5 separate regions of the Homo sapiens genome follow, and regions 1, 3, 4 and 5 are each linked to region 2. The links are contacts of gene promoters, found by promoter capture Hi-C in blood cells and fetal thymus (Javierre and others, 2016). All regions are on one chromosome and are shown on one strand. The core of a region is centred on a gene start or on the middle of the fragment in contact, and the rest is flanking DNA. Distances in the headings are between cores, read along the strand shown.

The links. The method cuts DNA at HindIII sites, captures the fragments that hold promoters and counts their contacts. A CHiCAGO score of 5 or more calls a contact.
Region 1: a fragment that was not itself captured here is called in contact with the fragment with the promoter of UBE2Q1-AS1 in region 2 in 2 of 17 cell types (endothelial precursors and megakaryocytes); the score reaches 7.9 in endothelial precursors.
Region 3: a fragment that was not itself captured here is called in contact with the fragment with the promoter of UBE2Q1-AS1 in region 2 in 6 of 17 cell types (endothelial precursors, megakaryocytes, M2 macrophages and 3 more); the score reaches 15.7 in endothelial precursors.
Region 4: the fragment with the promoter of AQP10 here is called in contact with the fragment with the promoter of UBE2Q1-AS1 in region 2 in 11 of 17 cell types (M0 macrophages, non-activated CD4 T cells, endothelial precursors and 8 more); the score reaches 10.1 in M0 macrophages.
Region 5: a contact is called between a fragment that was not itself captured here and the fragment with the promoter of UBE2Q1-AS1 in region 2, in 2 of 17 cell types (megakaryocytes and erythroblasts). The highest score is 7.8, in megakaryocytes.

Annotation. Positions count from the first base shown.
Region 1 is chr1:154,383,315-154,387,114 of GRCh38, forward strand. No RefSeq gene overlaps it. Among named protein-coding and RNA genes, the nearest start is that of IL6R, 20 kb to the right of the region's middle. RefSeq lists an enhancer at 3,430-3,639. The HindIII fragment of the contact is 3,747 bases long and covers 136-3,800 here.
Region 2 is chr1:154,551,463-154,554,996 of GRCh38, forward strand. UBE2Q1-AS1 (UBE2Q1 antisense RNA 1) reads left to right here and starts at 2,147. Exons shown (of 2, transcript NR_046668.1): 1 at 2,147-2,210; 2 at 3,188-3,534. It overlaps UBE2Q1 (ubiquitin conjugating enzyme E2 Q1), which reads right to left. Exons shown (of 13, transcript NM_017582.7): 4 at 3,273-3,323; 5 at 1,570-1,710; 6 at 1,274-1,358; 7 at 942-1,002; 8 at 631-721; 9 at 459-517; 10 at 309-357; 11 at 1-30. The HindIII fragment of the contact is 6,880 bases long and covers 1-3,534 here.
Region 3 is chr1:154,408,236-154,411,895 of GRCh38, forward strand. All of the region lies in intron 1 of IL6R (interleukin 6 receptor), which reads left to right. Among named protein-coding and RNA genes, the nearest start is that of IL6R-AS1, 3.5 kb to the left of the region's middle. The HindIII fragment of the contact is 3,649 bases long and covers 1-3,458 here.
Region 4 is chr1:154,319,567-154,323,321 of GRCh38, forward strand. AQP10 (aquaporin 10) reads left to right here and starts at 1,527. Exons shown (of 6, transcript NM_080429.3): 1 at 1,527-1,694; 2 at 2,367-2,493; 3 at 3,416-3,553; 4 at 3,675-3,755. The coding sequence starts at 1,590. RefSeq lists a silencer at 1,306-1,497. The HindIII fragment of the contact is 12,155 bases long and covers 1-3,755 here.
Region 5 is chr1:154,747,910-154,751,828 of GRCh38, forward strand. The region is part of intron 3 of KCNN3 (potassium calcium-activated channel subfamily N member 3); the gene reads right to left. Among named protein-coding and RNA genes, the nearest start is that of KCNN3, 120 kb to the right of the region's middle. RefSeq lists enhancers at 384-593, 1,489-1,992 and a silencer at 1,242-1,291. The HindIII fragment of the contact is 1,620 bases long and covers 687-2,306 here.

The DNA of each region.
Region 1 (3,800 bases), core at 759-3,258, 170 kb before region 2:
AAGTTGCGGTGAGCCAAGATTGTGCCATTGCACTCGAGCCTGGGCAACAAGAGTGAAACTCCGTCTGAAAAAAAAAAAAAAAAAAGTTCTATATCTTAATCTGGGTGGTGCTTTCCTGGATGTATTCCTATGCAAAGCTTTATTGAACTATGCACTTCACATTAATGCACTTCACAGCTACGTATAATATATTTTAATAAAAAGGTATATAAAAATACTATTTGGCTGGGTGCCGTGGCTCATGCCTGTAATCCCAGCTCTTTGGGAGGGCAAGGCAGGTGGATCACCTGAGGTCAGGAGTTCAAGACCAGCCTGATAAACATGGTGAAACCCCGTCTCTACTAAAATACAAAAATTAGTCAGGCGTGGTGGTGCACGCTTGTAATCCCAGCTACTCGGGAGTCTGAGGCAGTAGAATCGCTTGAATTTGGGAGATGGAGATTGCAGTGAGTCAAGATGGCACCACTGCACTCCAGCCTGGGTTACAGAGCAAGACTCCATCTCAAAAACAAACAAACAAACAAACAAACATCCCTTTGTGTCCTGTCTCAGACACTATTCCCCATCTCCCCAAAGGTAGCCTGTATCCTGATCCCCAACACTATAGATCATTTTTGCACCTTATATAAATGGAATCATGTAGTATGTACTATTTTGTAACGTGTGCCCGTGTGTCTTTTATGTTCATGAAATTTACCATCACATGCTGTACAAAAATAGGTAGTAGGCCAGATGTGACCTGAGGGCAATGGTTTTCTTTTCCTTTTTCTTTCTTTTTTTTTTTTTTTTTGGAGACAGAGTCTTGCTCTGTCATCCAGGCTGGAGTACAATGGCGTGATCTCGGCTCACTGCATTCTCTGCCTCCCAGGTTCAAGCGATTCTCATGACTCAGCCTCCCGAGTTGCTAGGAATACAGGCGTGAGCTACTACACCTGGATAATTTTTGTATTTTTAGTAGAGATGGGGTTTCACAATGTTGGCCAGGTTGGTCTCGAACTCCTGACCTCAGATGATCTGCCCGCCTCGGCCTCCCAAAGTGCTGGGATTACAGAAGTGAGCCACTGCACCTGGCCCTTTTTTAAGACAAAGTCTCCCTCTATCGCCCAGACTGGAGTGCAGTGGCACTGTGGCTCATGCCTGTAATTCCAGCACTTTTGGAGGCCGAGGTAGGCAGATCACTTGAGGTCAGGAGTTCAAGACCAGCCTGGGCAACATGGTGAAACTCCATCTCTACTAAAAATACAAAAATTAGCTGGGCATGGTGGTGCACGCCTGTAATCCCAGCTACTGGGGAGGCTGAGGCAGGAGAATCGCTTGAAACCGAGAGGCAGAGGTTGCAGCGAGCCGAGATCATGCCACTGCATTCCAGCCCAGGTGACAGAGACCCTGTCTCAAAACAAACAAACAAACAAACGAACCAACCAACCTCCAAATGACGATGCTTGAGCTTTAGCTCAGCTATCTCCAGTTGTCTTTGGGTAATGGGGGTGTCAAGTGGCAATGTTCCAAGTCTGGCTTATCTTGGGGGAACTAAATGGCTGTTATCATTCCCAGGCCTCACATCTACACTCTGCCTGATTCAGAGCAAGGGAGGGGGGTGTCTCCTGTGCCATCCACTGCTCTATCCTCAATCGAACCAAGCCCTTTGACCAGGGAAGTGCTGTGCCCTGTTTGTGCATGCTTGTAGGTACAGGGAAGAGACAGGTGGAGGGAGATCCCCTGACTAGCTTACATCAACCTGGCTCATCTCTGGAATTTGGGATGGAGTTAAACCCAACAACCCCTGGGCCTGCTCCAATGAAGACAGGGAGTGTTTATCAATGAGCAGTGACAATTACTACCTCTCCTGAGAGCAGATGAGTAGGTTTCAGGCATGGGGTTTCTCTAAGTCAGCAAAAAGCACCCGATCCCTAATGACAGAGGAGCAGTGTGTGTTAAATGTGTGTGTGCACATGTGTGAATAATTCAGGGCCCTCTAACCATGAGGCCCGGGACAAGAGCCACACTTGCCCACATGAAGTCAATGCTCTTGTCTGCAAGAACATTGTTTATTGTGGCTGGAGCCCAGATAACAAGGAGAAAGTGGCAAGAGATGAGGCAGGAGAGAAAAGCAGGGTGACTTCTGGAGAACCCTTTTCTCGGTGAAGGGATTTCAGCCTTATTCTGGGAATAAGCCAGAGCCCTGAGGGGTTTTAAGTGGAGGAGAGCCAGCCCCACCCCAACTCAGTGGCTTTAGGGGTCATTCTTCCCATGCTACCATTTCCCATGGTTCAAAGATTAACAATAGGGCTAACTTCCAATTTATTCAATTCTCAGGTTATTTATTCAATAATCTAGTGTTCTTCCTCTCTACTTCCTCCTCTTCAGTACCTTGTTGTGGGTGGAGCTCCAGGAAGAGGATGGGGCGTGGTGCCTAGAGGCGGAAGTGTGTATCTTGATTGTTTAACCTGGGAACCCTGAGGGCAGAGGGCGTAGGGGTTGGGAGAGGAAAGGAAGGCGCTAGGAAGACACTGGAAAGACCCCATAAGCGTAGCAGCTCCTAAACCACAGCTAAGCATGTCTGGAGGAGAAGCCTGAATCCGAAAGCAATGAGGAAATGATTAGTGGTTTCATAGTAGGTTGTCTGTAGCTGCAGACACACAGGCGTTTTTGTACACAGGTAAATACAGGCCTGTTCTGTTATTGACCACACGTTTGTATGAAGCTCCAAACTCATGTGTCCTCCTGTTCTCCTGTTTTTTTTTTTTTTTTTGAGACGGAGTTTCGCTCTTGTTGTCCAGGCTAGAGTGCAATGGCACGATCTCGGCTCACGGCAAACTCCACCTCCCAGGTTCAAGCGATTCTCCTGCCTCAGCCTCCTGAGTAGGTGGGATTACAGGCACGCGCCACCATGCCTGGGTAATTTTTGTATTTTTAGTAGAGACGAGGCTTCACTATGTTGACCAGGCTGGTCTCAAACTCCTGACCTTAGGTGATCCACCTACCTCAGCCTCCCAAAGTGCTGGAATTACAGGTGTGAGCAACTGTGCCTGGCCTCTCTGAAGTATTATTTGATATTTTTCTTTTGAAGTTTTCTTCTTCCTGTGTAGAAACTATTTCTGCAAATTGCTTTTCAGTCTGCTTTTTGCTCATTTGTTTTTATCTTCCATGTCTGAGGTTTTTTTCAGCTGTCTGGTGATCTTTGACTGATTATTTATAAGACAGGCAAATATCAGTTAAGTCCTTACAGTAAACATATGGTTTACTCAAGTTAGGATTATTTTAGGAGGATTTCTTTACAAAATGGCCATTTACAAAGACAGAGTATAGGAGAGCTATAACCTTTGGTTGAGAGACACAGGCAGCCTAAGAGAGGAACCCTCTAAGAGAAGAACCAGAGGAACAGATATCTTGATCTCACGCTCCTCCTCCCTCTGGTCTTCCGGGTTCTGCGTTGTCTAGACCAACTGCTAGTCAGAGGGTGTGGGGTATTGCTCATGTGGTCTCTTCCTGGAATACCCCCAGTGCAGAGGGCCAGGCAGCGTGGGTGGGGAGTAGCAAAGAGAAAGCTCTGACATGGGAACGAAGGCGCTGATTGGAAGCTCACATGGTGGGCATCTGGACGGGACTGTTTGCTGGGGGAGTCCCCACATGTCTGGATCTTTAGGTCTTTCGTCTGGGGCCAGTCAGGTTACCCAGAGAAGAATCTCCTTCTAGGAGGGAACAGGCCAGCCTGCCAGTGTTCTGGCCCCCGAAAGGAGGCAGAGGGCTGTGGGTCTTAGCCTGGGGCATTTGGCATACGCAGTCCCTTAGTTCCCGAG
Region 2 (3,534 bases), core at 897-3,396:
TGACTCTATGGAGTAGGCACTGCTCCAGCCCTGGGTGAAGGGAAGGACAAGGCAAGCAGGTCCAGATGGAGCTTCCAGAGAACCCTCATGCTTGTCCTCTGGGCAATCAGCTGTGTCTATAGGAGGGCCCTTGCCCTTTGCCCCCAGCACTGCCACCACCTGTCTGTCTAGGTCAGTGGGTGCAGACCCAGCCCAGCAGAATGAAAGGGCCACATCATGTCTATCACCCAGCCCGTAGGGGTGTGTGCTGTAAAGCTCAGACAATCCCCGCCCAGGCCGGCCTGGCCAAGGAGGAGAGACAGGCTCACCTGTTTGGTGAGAAGTTCCATGCAGATGGCCCCTCCGCCCAGAACATACCTGCATGAGAAAGGTTAGTCAGCTGTGCCTGACAAAATCTCCAAGTCTCTTCCCCGCCCTCTGCCAGAGGAGATGCCCTCTTCCGCATGCCAGCCACTCACCCTCCAGAGAGGACTGGAGACACAACCCTGACAAATGGTGGGTCAAAGGGAAAGTTATCCTGAGAGAGAGAGAGACGACAATCAGGGGAGGGAGGCCAGCATCCTCCACAGGACTGTCAGGCAGACTGGGCAGCCTAGGCCAGAGGGAGAGACTGGAAAAGAAAAGTCTTACTTTAAAGGAAAAGTTAAGTAGAATGAAGTCGGCTCCTTCTTTCTCTTTGAGGATCTGGAGATCGTTGTGCAAAGCGCTGTCCTGGTCAACTCTAAGAAGCAACAAGCCTGGGCTCAGATGCCTGGTTCCACCTCAGGAGCTTCATAAGGGCTCCCCTGCCCTGGCTGGCAGCAGACCACGAAACCACTGCCCACACCCGCTCCGGGACCCTGAATGAAAATGCTGGATGGGGCTGCCCTGGAGATCCCACCACAGTAGCCCCACTCACACTCCTCCTCAACTTCCTCTCCAATCCCAGAGTCCCCACTCACTTGAGGAGTTTGACATTCCAATCATACAGACTGTCATTCACGAGTTCGACTGCATAGTTTCCTGGAAGGAGGGAAAAAACAGGTGTTAGTAGAATGGTCCAGGTGGTGAGTGGTCTCTAATGCAGACCCCTTTCCCAGACTGAGAGAAAAAGATCAACAGCTCTAGGTTCACCACAGATGGACATGCAACCAAGCCACTGGCTTGAGGAGCTCCATTCTTGGCCTGAAAAGTTCATAAGCACTCCTGGACCCCAGAACCTCTTGGGCCCCTTGCCACCATACCCTTCTTTATGGGTGACTCTTGTGCAGGCCCCTCTCTGGGGCAAACTCACCGCCTTTGAAACTCTGTGATCGGTATATATCCCTGAGCTCCTTCATCAGCCGGTCAGTGGCCTGCACCGAGCCAGACACTGCACCCTGTGAGGGACGGATGACAGGAACATTCCTTGGTCGTGTGGTTTATAAACACACGTTAGACCTTAGGGGCAGTCTGGCAGCTTGCCCAGGATTTAAGAAAGGATTAGGCACAAAAAAGGAGTCTGCTCTCCATACTGAGATGCGATGGCCTACTACTTCCCAGCCATTTCCCACCAACCCCTTCACCAGCCTCTCTCTAGAAGGCACGTACATTTAAGTAATCTTGCCTCTGGTTCTTTTTAATTTTCTCTAGGATGGCCAAGTTTTCTTTTCCAATGCCATCATCTTCAGATTTCTTGCCCTCAGCTGGCTCTTCCTCTTTCATTTCATAGTGATCTAAGTCTTCTGTGTCCTGGAGGAGGTGTGGGGTGGGAGTGAAAAGAAAAGGAAAAAAACCGACACAGGTTAGAGAATGACCATCACCTTCCCAGTCCCATTTGGCGAAGAGCCAAAAGTTAAAGTGAAGCAGTCCATCTAGCAGTCTTATAAACGCAACGTGCTTTCCATTTTTAGAACAATTTCCAGCCCCATTCCCTCCACAGTCTAAATCTTCAGCTCTCAAGCTACAGCAAGGACTTCGGAAACGAGCAGAGCTGCAGCTGAGATCGAGGCAGGGACTTAGCCCTCTTGTTTCCTGGACTGACCCTGCTCCAACTGTTCCTAAAACTCCCTTGGCAGCAGAAACTCTTCCCTAATTCCTAGCAGAAATGACTTGGGCCTGACCCTGTGACTCAAAGCTCATGTTTCACCAGGTGACTATTGCACCCGGGAGTTCTCAGGGCCCCAAGCCTAAAGGAGAAACCTGAATCATTACATCTCCTCTCCTCGCTACAAATGCAAGGCATGAATCAGGTATGCAGAGGCACGCACTGCCAGATGGAAATGAGAAAGGATGTCCAGAGAGATATATGGAAGAGGTCAAGAACAGAATTAGCCCCTTATTCATCCTGCTCTAAGTGAGCAAGCAACTAGCTCACTGAGCATAGGGAAGGAGGAGAACCTATGTAGGGTTGAGCCCCTCAGCCAGATGTTGGGGGTGTGGCCCAGAGGGCTGTCCACTATCTGGGAGGAGTAAATTTCATGTCGTCAGCCCTTTGCCAGTCTCAAGAACCTTACACGGTTATAGAACCTGGGATATTAATCTAATGCTAGGAAATAAAAGTAATCAGAGTGATCTCCCCATTTCTGGCAGGACATACCTAATTACCACACCAGCAGGTAATGTCTACTGAGTGTTTATTACATGCCAGGTTCTGTCCTAGGTGCCGCAGATACTAGCTCATTTCATTCTTACCACCATCACTCATTATTCTATCATTATCCATTTTATAGATGCGGAAGCTGAGTCTAGTGAGGTCAATTATCATGCCCAAAGTCACAGCTCTTAGCAGAGCTAAGATTCAGTCAAGTTCTGTCTAGCTCTAAAGCTCAAATTCCTAACCATGATTTTATATTCTGTATGTTTTTAGAGAATATATCAGATAGATTGTTTAGCATTTATCATGTATCATCTGAAGCATTTTATATATAACACCTCATTTAATCTCAAGACAACCATATGCAGTAGGTATTATAATCCTACTTTATAGATAAGAAAACTGTAGCTTAGTGAGATTACATAAAATTCCTCAATTAGGATAGCTAGGATGCAAACACAGGTTTGTTGGACTCCAAAGCCATTTGAAATTAACTTACCCAGTATTTGGTTTGAACCGCGCTGCACCTGTCTTCAGTGGTTGGATATGGGTGCCCTGTCTCCTCTACTACACTGGCTATTCCTCCAGGTCAGTAAATCTGTCTTTATTCCTTTGATATTTTTCTCTCTCCAGTTTTAGACTGGAGTTCTGGATATGGGTACCAATGTTGCTGACTGCAAGAGCTTCCAGCCAATGCCACCTCAGGGGGCAAGCCTACCTCAGGCATCTCCTCATCTTCATCTTCTGAAGACACGTCTTCCTGTGTGCACTGCAGCAAGGAAGGGAAAGATGGAGATCAGAGCCCCAGTGGCTTGCTAGAATGCAGCCTCCAACCTACTCCCCTGAGCCCCCAGGTCTGGAAGTTGTGCGCCTGCCTGTAATGCTGCCAGTCTCTCCACCAGCCAGATCTGAGTGGAAGCAACAGCCCAGGGAATGGCTTTGCTACCAGCCCATTATTTTTCGCCTATCACTGCCAAAGA
Region 3 (3,660 bases), core at 384-2,883, 140 kb before region 2:
CTAAATGGTGTCATTGAGGAACTGAATGAAGGCCCTCCCGCTTCGGGCTCTCTGTTGCCAGAAATCTCTCCTTGCTTTGGCTTGCTGCTTGTTTATTCATTGCAGCAAACATTTCTTGAGTCGGTGTAGAGCCTGTGAGGCCTGTGTAGGATCAGCTATGCAGACTCCACCCTAAAAGGAGCCTGAAAATGGTCATGGGTAAATCCTGAGAAGGGCTGAGAAACCCCAGACTCTGACCGGGCCACTGGGTACCAACTACCCGTGAACAGATTGTCTGGCTTGGGGTAGGGGGTGGTTAGAGAGAGGAAGTTCCTCTGACTGAGGACCAAGATCCCAAGGCAGCAGGCACACTGATCCTGACCCTGACCCTCATCTCCAGCCCTCAGCAGCCAGGGTAAACAAATACTCCCCTCACTGGGTATTTGTAGATTACACAAAGTAACCTAGGTGCTGACTGCTGAAAATATACACTCCCTTCCCCCGTCTCCTGAATCCTGGTCCCACCAGGCCTGGAAGCCACAGACCCAGCAAGCAAAAGAGTTTCCAGTCAATGAATCTAGTCTGGATTGAAGCTGTGCTCTGTAATACGGTAGCCACTAGCCACGTGTACCTATTTAAATTTAAATTATGCCAGCGCAGTGACTCACGCCTGTAATCCCAGTACTTTGGGAGGCTGAGGCAGGAGGATCTCTTGAGCTCAGGAGTTGGAGACCAGCCTGGGCAACAGGGTGAGATGCCGTCTCTACAAAAAGATTTAAAAAATTAGCTGGGCACAGTGACATGAGCCTGTAGTCCCTGCTACTGAGAAGGCTGAGGTGGGAGAATCACTTGAGTCCAGTCTGCATGGAGCCATGTTTGCACTACCGAATTCCAGTCTGGGCGACAGGAGACCCTGTCTCCAAAAAATTAATTTAAATGAAATCAAATAAAAACTTAGTTTCTTAGTTGCACTAGTCACATTTTAAGTGCTCAACACTCACATTGCTAGTGGCTACTGTACTGAACAGTGCAGATACAGATCTCTTCCATCATCGTGGAAAGCCCTACTGGACGGTGCTGGGCTAGAGTGTTAACCAGTTTCTTCCAGAGGTTTTCTGTTCTCTTTTCCTTTATCCCCCTCTGCCTTCTGCTCTCCTCCACCTGAACACAGCTCATTTTGCATAGGTGATGGCTAAGGTCTTCAAGCCAGGCACATCTCTGCCCTGCACTGCCAAGTAAAAATGATAACACCTTGGGCAAGTGATTTAACTTCTTTGACAGCCAGTGTTCTAGAAAATAGAAATAATTGTATTACCTCGAAGGGTGGTTATGAAGATGAGATGAGCTAAGTAAGGTATTAAATAGAGTGTTTACAGAAGTCCCTAACACACAGCAAGTGCTTAAATAAGTGTAGGTGATCATTCATTCACTCCAAAAATATATTTTTGGAGTGAACACCTCCTACTCTGTTCCAGGCACTATTCTAAGAGCTGGAGATACACCATGAATAAAAGAGACAAAAACCCCAGGCTTAGTTGAGTTTCATTCTAGTGTGGGAGACTATTAACAGGATGTAAATTAAGTATGTGGTATGCTAGCGACTAGTGCTAAGGAGAAAAACTAAAGCCGAGAGGGAGACAGACCCCATGTGTGTTTGTGGCAGGGTGGGGTGGCATGGTGCCTTGGATGGGAGGCCAGGGAATGCCTTGCTGAGAACATAATATTTGAGTGAAGACCTGAAGAAAATATACAAATCTCTAGAGATTCCCTATATGTCCATCTTGGGCAGGAAAATTCTTGCCTCCTCTTTAACAATGTGTACTACCTGAGGGTGTGTTATGTTCTGGAGCAGAGGGCTCTGTGGGGACACATGGATGCTCCCTGCCCTGGAGAAGTATCTCTGGGGTAACAAGTCCTCAGCCCTTTAGCTCCTTGAAGTCTAGCAGAGGGAAGTGCTAAATGCCAGGTCATAACTGCAAGTCTGCAGGTGGGATCCTTGAGGGCTGGAGTGGCAAGGGGAAGGTGACAAAGAAAAGGCCTTTTTTTTTTTTTTAAATACAGGATCTTACTCCCGTAGCCCAGGTTGGAGTGCAGTGGCACAATCACTGCTCACTGCAGCCTCGACTTCCTGGTCTCAGGTGATCCTCCCACCTCAGCTTCCGGAATAGCTGGGACTACAGGCGTGCACCACCACATCTGGCTAATTTTTTGTATTTCTTGTAGAGACAGGATTTCGCCATGTTGCAGGCTGCTCTGGAACACCTAGGCTCAAGCAGTTCACCCGCCTTGGCCTCCCAAAGTGCTGGGATTACAGGCGTGAGCCTTTGTGTCCAGCTGGGAGGTTTTTTTGTGTAGTTAATCTGTGTTCTTTACCCTCTCCTCTTGCCTGGGATCTGAAGAGGTCAAAAGTCCCTGGCAAAGGCAGAGGCTTTTCTGCCACTGGGTTCAGGCTTGACGTTAGCTGGACCTCAGCAGCCTCCCCCACTCCTGCTCATCCCTTGCCAGCTCTGTCGGGTGCTTTCTACTCTTAGGAGTATGTCCCTGAGGCCCTGCATCCAGCCTATTCTCCCCAGCACCTGTTCTCTGAATCAGTTCCCACTCCACTTCCCAACCGCTTTCCCGAAAAGCATCCTTTGGTCTTCCCTCTCTATATGATGGTTACAATAACTGTTACCATTTATGGTGTGTCAACTGTGTGCAAGTAGCTGTGCTAGGCCCTTGGCATCTGTGATCTCATGTAATCTTCAAAACAGCCTCAGGTGAGAGAAGTGCTGGCCCCATTGCATAGATGGTGGGCTGTAGGACAAGATGAGAGGCCAGTTTTGCACATATGGAAACAAATGTCTTTTGTTTTCGTTTTTGTTTTGAGACAGAGTCTCTGTCTCCCAGGCTGGAGTGCAGTGGTGCAATCTTGGCTCACTGCAACCTCTGCCTCCCGGGTTCAAGCGATTCTCCTGCCTCTGCCTCCAGAGTAGCTGGCATTACGGGTGCACACCACCACACCTGGCTAATTTTTGTATTTTTAGTAGAGATGGGGTTTCACCAGGTTGCCAGTCTGGTCTCGAACTCCTGACCTCAAGTGATCTGCCTGCCTCGGCCTCCCAAAGTGCTATAGGATTGCAGGCATGAGCCACCGCGCCTGGCCGCAACGAGACAATCAAGAGAAGATGCTGATAAGGAGTTGGATATGGGAGTCAGGAATTTGGGAATGAGGACTGAGCTTGAGATGTAAATGTGGGAGTCGTGTGCTGGCAGATATTATTTCAAGCCCTGAGAGTGGCTGAGGTCCCCCACATCTATTCATATGCCTTTGGTCAGTGGAATGTTTTGCAATCCACATCACTATAAATGAATTTCCTCTGTCTCTGAGAGAGGCCGCTGAGGTAGCAGAGAGAAAACAGCTTTGAGGGCAGGCAGTCCAGGCCTGTCTCCCCATTAACTGCTTCACCAGCTAGGGGACCTTTGGGCAAGTCACTACAAGCTTTAAAGTATAAAATACTTTTTGAGGCCGGATGTGGTGTATCATGTCTGTCATCCCAGTGCTTTAGGAGGCCAAGGCAGGAGGATCACTTGAGCCCAGGAGTTCGAGGCTGCAGTGAACCGTGACAGCAACACTGCACTCCAACCTGGGTGACAAAGCAAGACCCTGTCTCAACAACAACAACAACAAAAGTATAAAAT
Region 4 (3,755 bases), core at 277-2,776, 230 kb before region 2:
ACTAGTCACACAGATGTGCCCAGGACAGTGGTAGAGCCCACAGGGTTACATAAATCATAATGGTAGCCCTCAAGAACTTCATAAACTGTATATGGTATTTTAAAAAGTTGCATATTGTCTGTTTCCACCTACTAGAACATAAGCTCTAGGAGGGCAGAGACTATGTTTTGTTCACCACTGTTTCTCCAGTGTCTAGACGTAGATTCTTTGAATGCATTTAATTGGAGCCTTGAGATATGAAGAAGTAGGATGCGGTTACTTCATGCAGAGCAAGAGTGGCATGCACCCAGAGAAGGCCAGGTGGAGCTCAGCATGAGTGTGAAGGCCTCATGTCAAGCCATGTCAGGGGACACAAAGATGGAGTATTCTCTAACCTATGTGACACTCGGCATAAGGGAAGTACAAGCACTCAATATGTGAGTTTCATTCCCACAGTCTGTGGTCTTTAGCCCAGTCTTTCCAGATGCCTATTGAGTTCTTCAAGCATCCAAATGGTTTGGGGTAAGGCTTCAGGTTCTAAATGAGAGGCTTTGTGGGTTACCAGCTGGAGAGTCAGAAAATCTGGATTTGAATTCACTCAGCCATGAAATAATTGTGTGATCTTGGGCCGGGCACGGTGGCTCACGCTTGTAATCCCAGCACTTTGGGAGGCCAAGGAAGGTGAATCACTAGAGGTCAGGAGTTTGAGACCAGCCTGGCCAACATGGTGAAACCCCGTCTTTTTTTTTTTTTTTTTTTTTGAGACAAAGTCTCGCTCTGTTGCCAGGCTGGAGTGCAGTGGCACAATCTCGGCTCACTGCAACCTCCGCCTCCCTGGTTCAAGTGATTCCCCTGCCTCAGCCTCCCGAGTAGCTGGGACTACAGGCGTGCACCACCACGCTAATTTTTTTGTATTTTAGTAGAGATGGAGTTTCACCATGTTGGCCAGGATAGTCTTGATCTCCTGACCTCGTGATCTGCCTGCCTCGGCCTCCCGAGAAACCAAGTCTTTACTAAAAAATATCAAAATTAGCCAGGTGTGATGGACCTGTAGTCCCATCTACTTGGGAGGCTGAGGCAGGAGAATTGCTTGAACCTGGGAGGTGGAGGTTGCAGTAAGCTGAGATGGTGCCACTGCACTCCAGCCTGGGGGACAGAGCAAGACTCTCTCTCAGAAAAAAAAAAAAAAAAAGTTTGATCTTGGGGAGTTCTAAGGCCCACTAGCCTCATCTGTAGAATGGAAGCAATAGTACTACTTTGCAGAGCTGACTTCAGGACCAAGAGATCTAATGTCTATGAAGCGGGGTACTTCCTTCTATTTGTCAGGATGGGGGAGGCTAGTCCTGTGATGACTGGGAATGAAGGGTAAAAGAGACAGAGGTTGGGTAAACTCCAGGCTCTGTGTTCATAGCCTGCTCCCAGACATTCTCTTGTTATCTCTCTGTTTCCTAGCCTACACACGTGCACAGACACGTAGCTGCTGTTCAGGAACTGAGCTAATGGTTTTAAAGTCTGTTCCTTATCTTTGCTGGAGGCAGGCAGTAGCTGTGCAGTGACAGTGTGCCTATGCAGACAGAGGGAGCAGTGAATAGCAATAGGGTGTTTCCACCATGGTCTTCACTCAGGCCCCGGCTGAAATCATGGGCCACCTCCGGATACGCAGCCTCCTGGCCCGGCAGTGCCTGGCAGAGTTTCTGGGTGTGTTTGTACTCATGGTAGGTAGGATCACTGCGGGAAGGAAAGAAGGGGGTTGGGCAAAAGTTCCTGGCTCCTTCTGTTGTCCTTATCTCTTTCTCTTGGTGTCCCCCTTCCTCTCAACTCCCTATCACTTTTCGTTTTTATCCTCTCGTCTCTCCTAATCTCCTTTCCTCTCCTACTTCATCATTTTTATTCTTGTCATTTTTATTCTTTCTTTAATAACAAGTGTATCATAGTTCTTGAAACATAATTTTTCTCTCTTCAGTTTCCCATTTTTATGAAAGACCATTTTCATGGTAAGACCAATGTGCTTTATTATACTTGGCCTGATGATTGTATAAAGTGCAGCAAGAATAATTATTTTTCACATAGGCTTTTAAAATTGGCTTTGATGGAACTCTTCCATAGAAAGAATCTTAGATAAGACTTTTTAAAGCTGAGCCCTGCCATGGGTTTGTACCCTCAAATGCCTATGAGTTGGGTAAATTCTTTTCTTTTTTCCCACATTCTTTCCCTTTCTTCTTCCTCCACTTTCCCCATTTCTTTTCCCTTCCCTCCTTCTGCTTTTCTCCTTCCCTTGCTTGTCTTCTGTGCTCATTCATCTCCTTGGCTGCTCCCCTGGCCTTCCCAACCTTTCTCCCTGTTGGTCTCCTGGGCTCCCTGTTCCTCATCTCTCCTCTTCTCAGCAGCTCCTCACCCAAGGAGCTGTGGCCCAGGCTGTCACCAGTGGAGAAACCAAAGGCAACTTCTTCACCATGTTTCTGGCTGGCTCTCTGGCCGTTACGATAGCCATCTACGTGGGTGGTAACGTCTCAGGTGAGGAGGGTGGGGTCTGGTCATCAGAGCACGTGGGATGTGCATGCCAGTTTGTCTGTCTGGTGATGGTGGAAACGCAAATCCTTCTGTGACTCGTGGACATTATCCCCTTGAACAGTGTCCCAGACTGAAATAAGCCTTTGGCCCCACCAGCCCCTCCTCTTTCTGTATCTCTCCATCCTGCTTCCTCACACTAATGCTTGGCTCACCTAGACAGAAATCAATGGCAGGGCACGAAGGGCAGCTGCTATCCTCTTGTATCCCCCACCTGAAGTCCTCTGGGGGCTCATCTCCACTCAGGACCTCTCCTGTTTGTACCCCAGATACACACTGCATCGGTGTGCTTGGGTGGAGCCTTGAGACATAGTGTGTTGCTGTGGAAAAAGCAGACAGACCTAGGTTCCAACTTTGGATTCACAGTGTCTTCTTCTTTTTTTTTTTTTTTTTTCTTTTTTTTTGAGATGGAGTTTCACTCTGTTGCCCAGGCTGGAGAGCAGTGGTGTGATGTCTGTTCACTGCAACCTCTGCCCCTGGGTTCACGCGATTCTCCTGCCTCAGCATCCCGAATAGCTGATTTTACAGGCACCTGCTACCACGCCTGGCTAATATTTGTGTTTTTAGTGGAAACGGGGTTTCACCATGTTGGCCAGGCTGGTCTGGAATTCCTGACCTCAAGTGATCCACTGCCTCGGCCTCCCAAAGTGCTGGGATTACAGGCGTGAGCCACTGTGCCTGGCCCACAGTGTGACTTTGCTAAGTCACTTAACATCTGTAACATCTGGAGCCTCAATTTCCTAAGCTGTGTGATGAGAATTACACTATCTGCCTTAAGAGCTATAGGAAGGAGCAGTAGTGTTGTCTGGTGACAATGCCTGGCAGTGACACTTAATAGATGCTCTTTTTCTTTCCTTGATACTTGAAGGGGCCCACCTGAATCCAGCCTTCTCCCTGGCCATGTGCATCGTTGGACGCCTCCCCTGGGTCAAGCTCCCCATTTACATCTTGGTGCAGTTGCTGTCTGCTTTCTGTGCTTCGGGAGCCACCTATGTTCTCTACCATGGTGACAGAGGGAACAGAGGGAGCTGTGCCTTGAGAGCACCTGTGGGTGGGCAGGGGTGCCTCAGAATGGTTTTGGATGAATGAGCAAAGAGGGAAATCCTGGGTGTTCCCTTCCTCCACAGATGCCCTACAGAACTATACAGGTGGGAACCTGACAGTGACTGGCCCCAAGGAGACAGCCTCCATTTTTGCCACCTATCCTG
Region 5 (3,919 bases), core at 247-2,746, 200 kb after region 2:
AGGCCCCTTAGGCCTAGGAAATCACCTCCTCCGGAAAGCCGTCCCGGATCAAGTGCCCTCTGTGGAGCCCCTTCTTCCCCATTCTCCCTCACTTCTCACCACCGGCTCTTGGCCATCTCCACCCCCAGCACCAGCCTCCATTGGTTGGTTGGTTTGTCGGTCGGCAGGTGCTGAGAAAGCTGGTCAGAGCTACTGAAGGAAGCTGTGAATGAACAAGGACTTAGGGGAAAGTGACGTTTAAACCTGGTCTCATCTCACTCCCTGCTGTGGGCCTCTGCTTTCTGTTTAAAGCCATTCTGGGTCTCTGCTTGCTCTCACAGCTGCTGTCTGTCTGTGGTTTTCATTGAGCTCCACCCGCCCGGGGCCCTCAGTCTGCCGCCCGCGCCTGCAAGCTTTCTCTCTCCTGGTTGAGCCTTTCCCGACATCTGCCATCAGTCACAGAGCGTGACTTGGAAGCAAAGGGGCTTCACAGTTCATCGTTTTTTATATACAGAGAGAAGAACAACAGTAGTTGGGATTCTTGCAAAATACTTCCTCAAAGATCTTAGAGATGATCTACTTCTCATTTCATTTTATTTCTGGGGCTATCTCTGTGTGGTAGGTAAGACTGGATGCTAATCTTATTTGAAGAGATAACAATAATCACTATCATTTCTCAAGTGCCAATCACGTGCCATGTGGGCCAAAGCTTTATGCGCATTACTGAATTTAATCCTCAAAAAACAAGACTCATAACTGTCACTTCCTATTTTACTGAATTGGAAAATTAGACCAGGTGCAGTGGCTCATGCCTGTAATCCAAGCACTTTGGGAGGCTGAGACAGAAGGATCCCTTGAGCCCAGGATTTCAAGACCAGACTGGGCAACATAGTGAGATGCTGTCTCTACAAAAAATGAATAAAATTAGCAGGGCATGGTGGTACGTGTCTATAGTCCCAGCTATTCTGGAGGCTGAGGTGGGAGGATCACTTGATTAATTACTAGATTAGGAAACTTGCACAAAATAAAACATCAATTGAGTGGCAGGGCCCGAGTGTGTGCTTGGACTTGCCTGCATCCACAGCCCTGTCTTTGACCATATTGCACCTTGGAGGAGCCCTGTCTTTGACCATATTACACCTTGGAGGAGGTGGAGACCTAAAAAGGGAGGTGAGATGAGTGGAGAGACTGGTGGGGATTCTCTCTCTCTCAGGTATCTCATCCTGGATCTGTGTTATAATGAGCCATGCTTCCCAGGAGAGTAAGACAGAGCCAGGGCTGCCCTGTTCAGCAGCATAGGTTGCGCACTGTGCAACTCCAAGGAGTGCCAGTCACGAAGACTTCAATGTGAATGGCACCCCCTGGAGGGAAGTGCTGCATAGGCAGTGCTCCTGGCAAGAGCCCTAAAGAAAAGACGGGTGTCTTGCTCTTCTCAGTTATGCTTTCCAAAGATAATTAAAGGCAGGCAGCTCCCCAGGCAAGCAAATGTTGTGGAAGGCACACAAAGCTGCAGCCTCACCTAGGCAGGGTTAGTGTGGGAAGGACGTGGGAATCACCCTGTGACCAAGAACAAAGAGGAACAGCACAGAACAAGTACCCTGGGAAGGAATTTTCTTGTTTTTGTTTCCCAGAGCAGTGGGGTTCCCAGGGCAGGACGTGGGAGCTCTGGTTGGGCGTCTTTCCCTGCCACAGAGAAGACAGGGTGCCAAGGAGGAGCCTGGGACGTCAGGGCGAGTGGGAAGAATTCTGACTCAGCAGAGGTTGCAAAGTAGCCCCCAGGGAATCAGAGAGAGAGGAAGATAGAGAAAGAGAGGGACAGGGATGGAGACAGAGACAATGGCTGGAAGGGGAGGAGTCTGAGGGCAAGGGCACCTGGGTGAGGGTCTGGCCTGAGCATGAGGGGCCTGAGGACAGGGATATGCACAATAATGCCCTGACCCGGGGTCCCCACGGCCGTGGGGCTTGGGGAGACTACGGGATGCTCCCGGACCACAAGCAGCCTGCCCAGGGAGTGCAGCTGTCCCTGACCTCTCGCCTCTTTCCATAGGCCTGGGCTACGCAGAAAGGCACATTTCCCTGCTTTCTGGGAGTGGGCTCTGGCCAAGTGAAGCGTCACGAAGTCTGGGATGGGAGTAGTTTCTCAGGGGCTGGTCCGGCCCCAACTGCCCACAGCCAAGTCACCTGAGCCTTGGTTTACATGATTAACTGAAAATTCTGGTACACGTCAGGAATAAAGCTAATTCCGAAGGTCAACACTATATGGAGAAAGGAATGGAGACAGCCAGTCGCACACACTTTTCCCTCAGAAGGGCCTTTCTTGCTGGAGAAGCTTCTAAAGCCTCGAAGCTGGTGCACCCCAAGCTCTGGAGAGCAGCGGCTGGAAGGGAAGGCTCCAGGCCTGGTGCTCAGGCCAAGGGCCTCCTGCACCCCTCCTCACCCATTTCCTCGGCCCCAGGAGCAGAATGAAAGAGATATGAAGAGACAGATTGCCTTCAGCAATCCTTTTCTCTGCCTCTTGAACTGAGAGATTCTTACTTAAGGAAAGGAAGGAGCAGGATAAAGAGATGACCCATCTGGAGATGCCTTCTCACCTGTGGGGTCTGAAGGGAATAGAGCAAAACCCCCTTCGCATCAACTCTCACAGCTCTGGGCCTCCCTCTCTTCATCTGGGAAGGGTGGGGGGCTGGGTCCATGTGCATTAGGGCCCCTTCCAGCTCTAAGGAGCTGTAATTCTCAGAGAATGTTTTCTTACCCGTTTCCCACACTAGATGGAGAGCTGGTTAGGTAGGGGAGTGGGCAGCTGCAGCCCTGATCCTTGATAAGGGTCTTAAGAGACCATCTTTGAAGACACAGATGCCCAGGAGGCTTGCCCTAAATCAGCCTCATGGTGACAAGTGTCGTGGCTGTGCTCGGGGTCTCTGCATACAGTGGGATTCTCCTGGGGAGCATCAGCTCAGAGGCCCAGGACCCCCTCAGCTTCTGAGCTTTCCTGGGGCGGTGAGAGCAGCCCTGGACACGTGGCTGAAGGCCTGGGCAGCAGGGGCCTGCCTGCTGTGTCAGCTTTACCATCAGAGTCACTGAGTCTTGGGGCTCCCTCTAGCCCAGTTCACCTCATTCTTTTTAGATAAGCAAATGGAGGCCAGAAAGCGGAGAACTGGGCATCTGGTGCACTTCTCACCACATGCTGCCTCTTTCTAGCCACAGGGCATCAGATGTGTGAGCTCGGCAGAGTCCAGTCCCAGGAGAGAGACCCTTGGCTGGGAGCTCAGACCCGCCCAACTCGCGGTGTGAGTCTGGACAAGTTGCTTCCCTTCTTTGGGCTTTGGTTTCCTCGTGTGTACAATATGAGGATTTGGCTAAAGAAGCTCTAAAGCCCCCTCCAGCTCTAAGTCAGGTGTTTTTTTGGATCACATTCTGTCCCCCTTCTCTCTCCCACTCCCATTCTCGGGACAACTAGCAGCTGGGCTGACTGCAGAGGCAAAAGCCAGGTGTCTTTCCAGACAGGAGGCCTGTGGCATCCCGTGCAGACAAGATGAAGCAAGAGTCAGCACCAGTGGAAACCACCTAGCAGCCTTCATCCAGGCTGGCCATGCCTCAGGGAGCTGCAGCAGGTGCCTCTCAAGTTACACAGAACTTCTGATGGCTCCTAACCCAAGGCTTTTCACCACTGGACACCTGGGGTGCCTGAAATGGGGCAGGAGAGGGCGTGCCAGTGCCAAGGCTATTATAAAAGAGTAAGAATGGCAACACTCAGAGTCACCATGGAAGCCAACCTGTCTGTCTGTCCCCCTCCCCTGACTCCTCCCCATGACCCCAGAGAAGCTCCCAGAGACTCCTTCGTCCACTGCATCCCCAGCCTGGCTCTGTTTTAAGGGAAGCAGCCACCACAGAAGATGCTTGTTACACGTTGCCAGGCAACAAAAATGCTGCCTGAAAACTA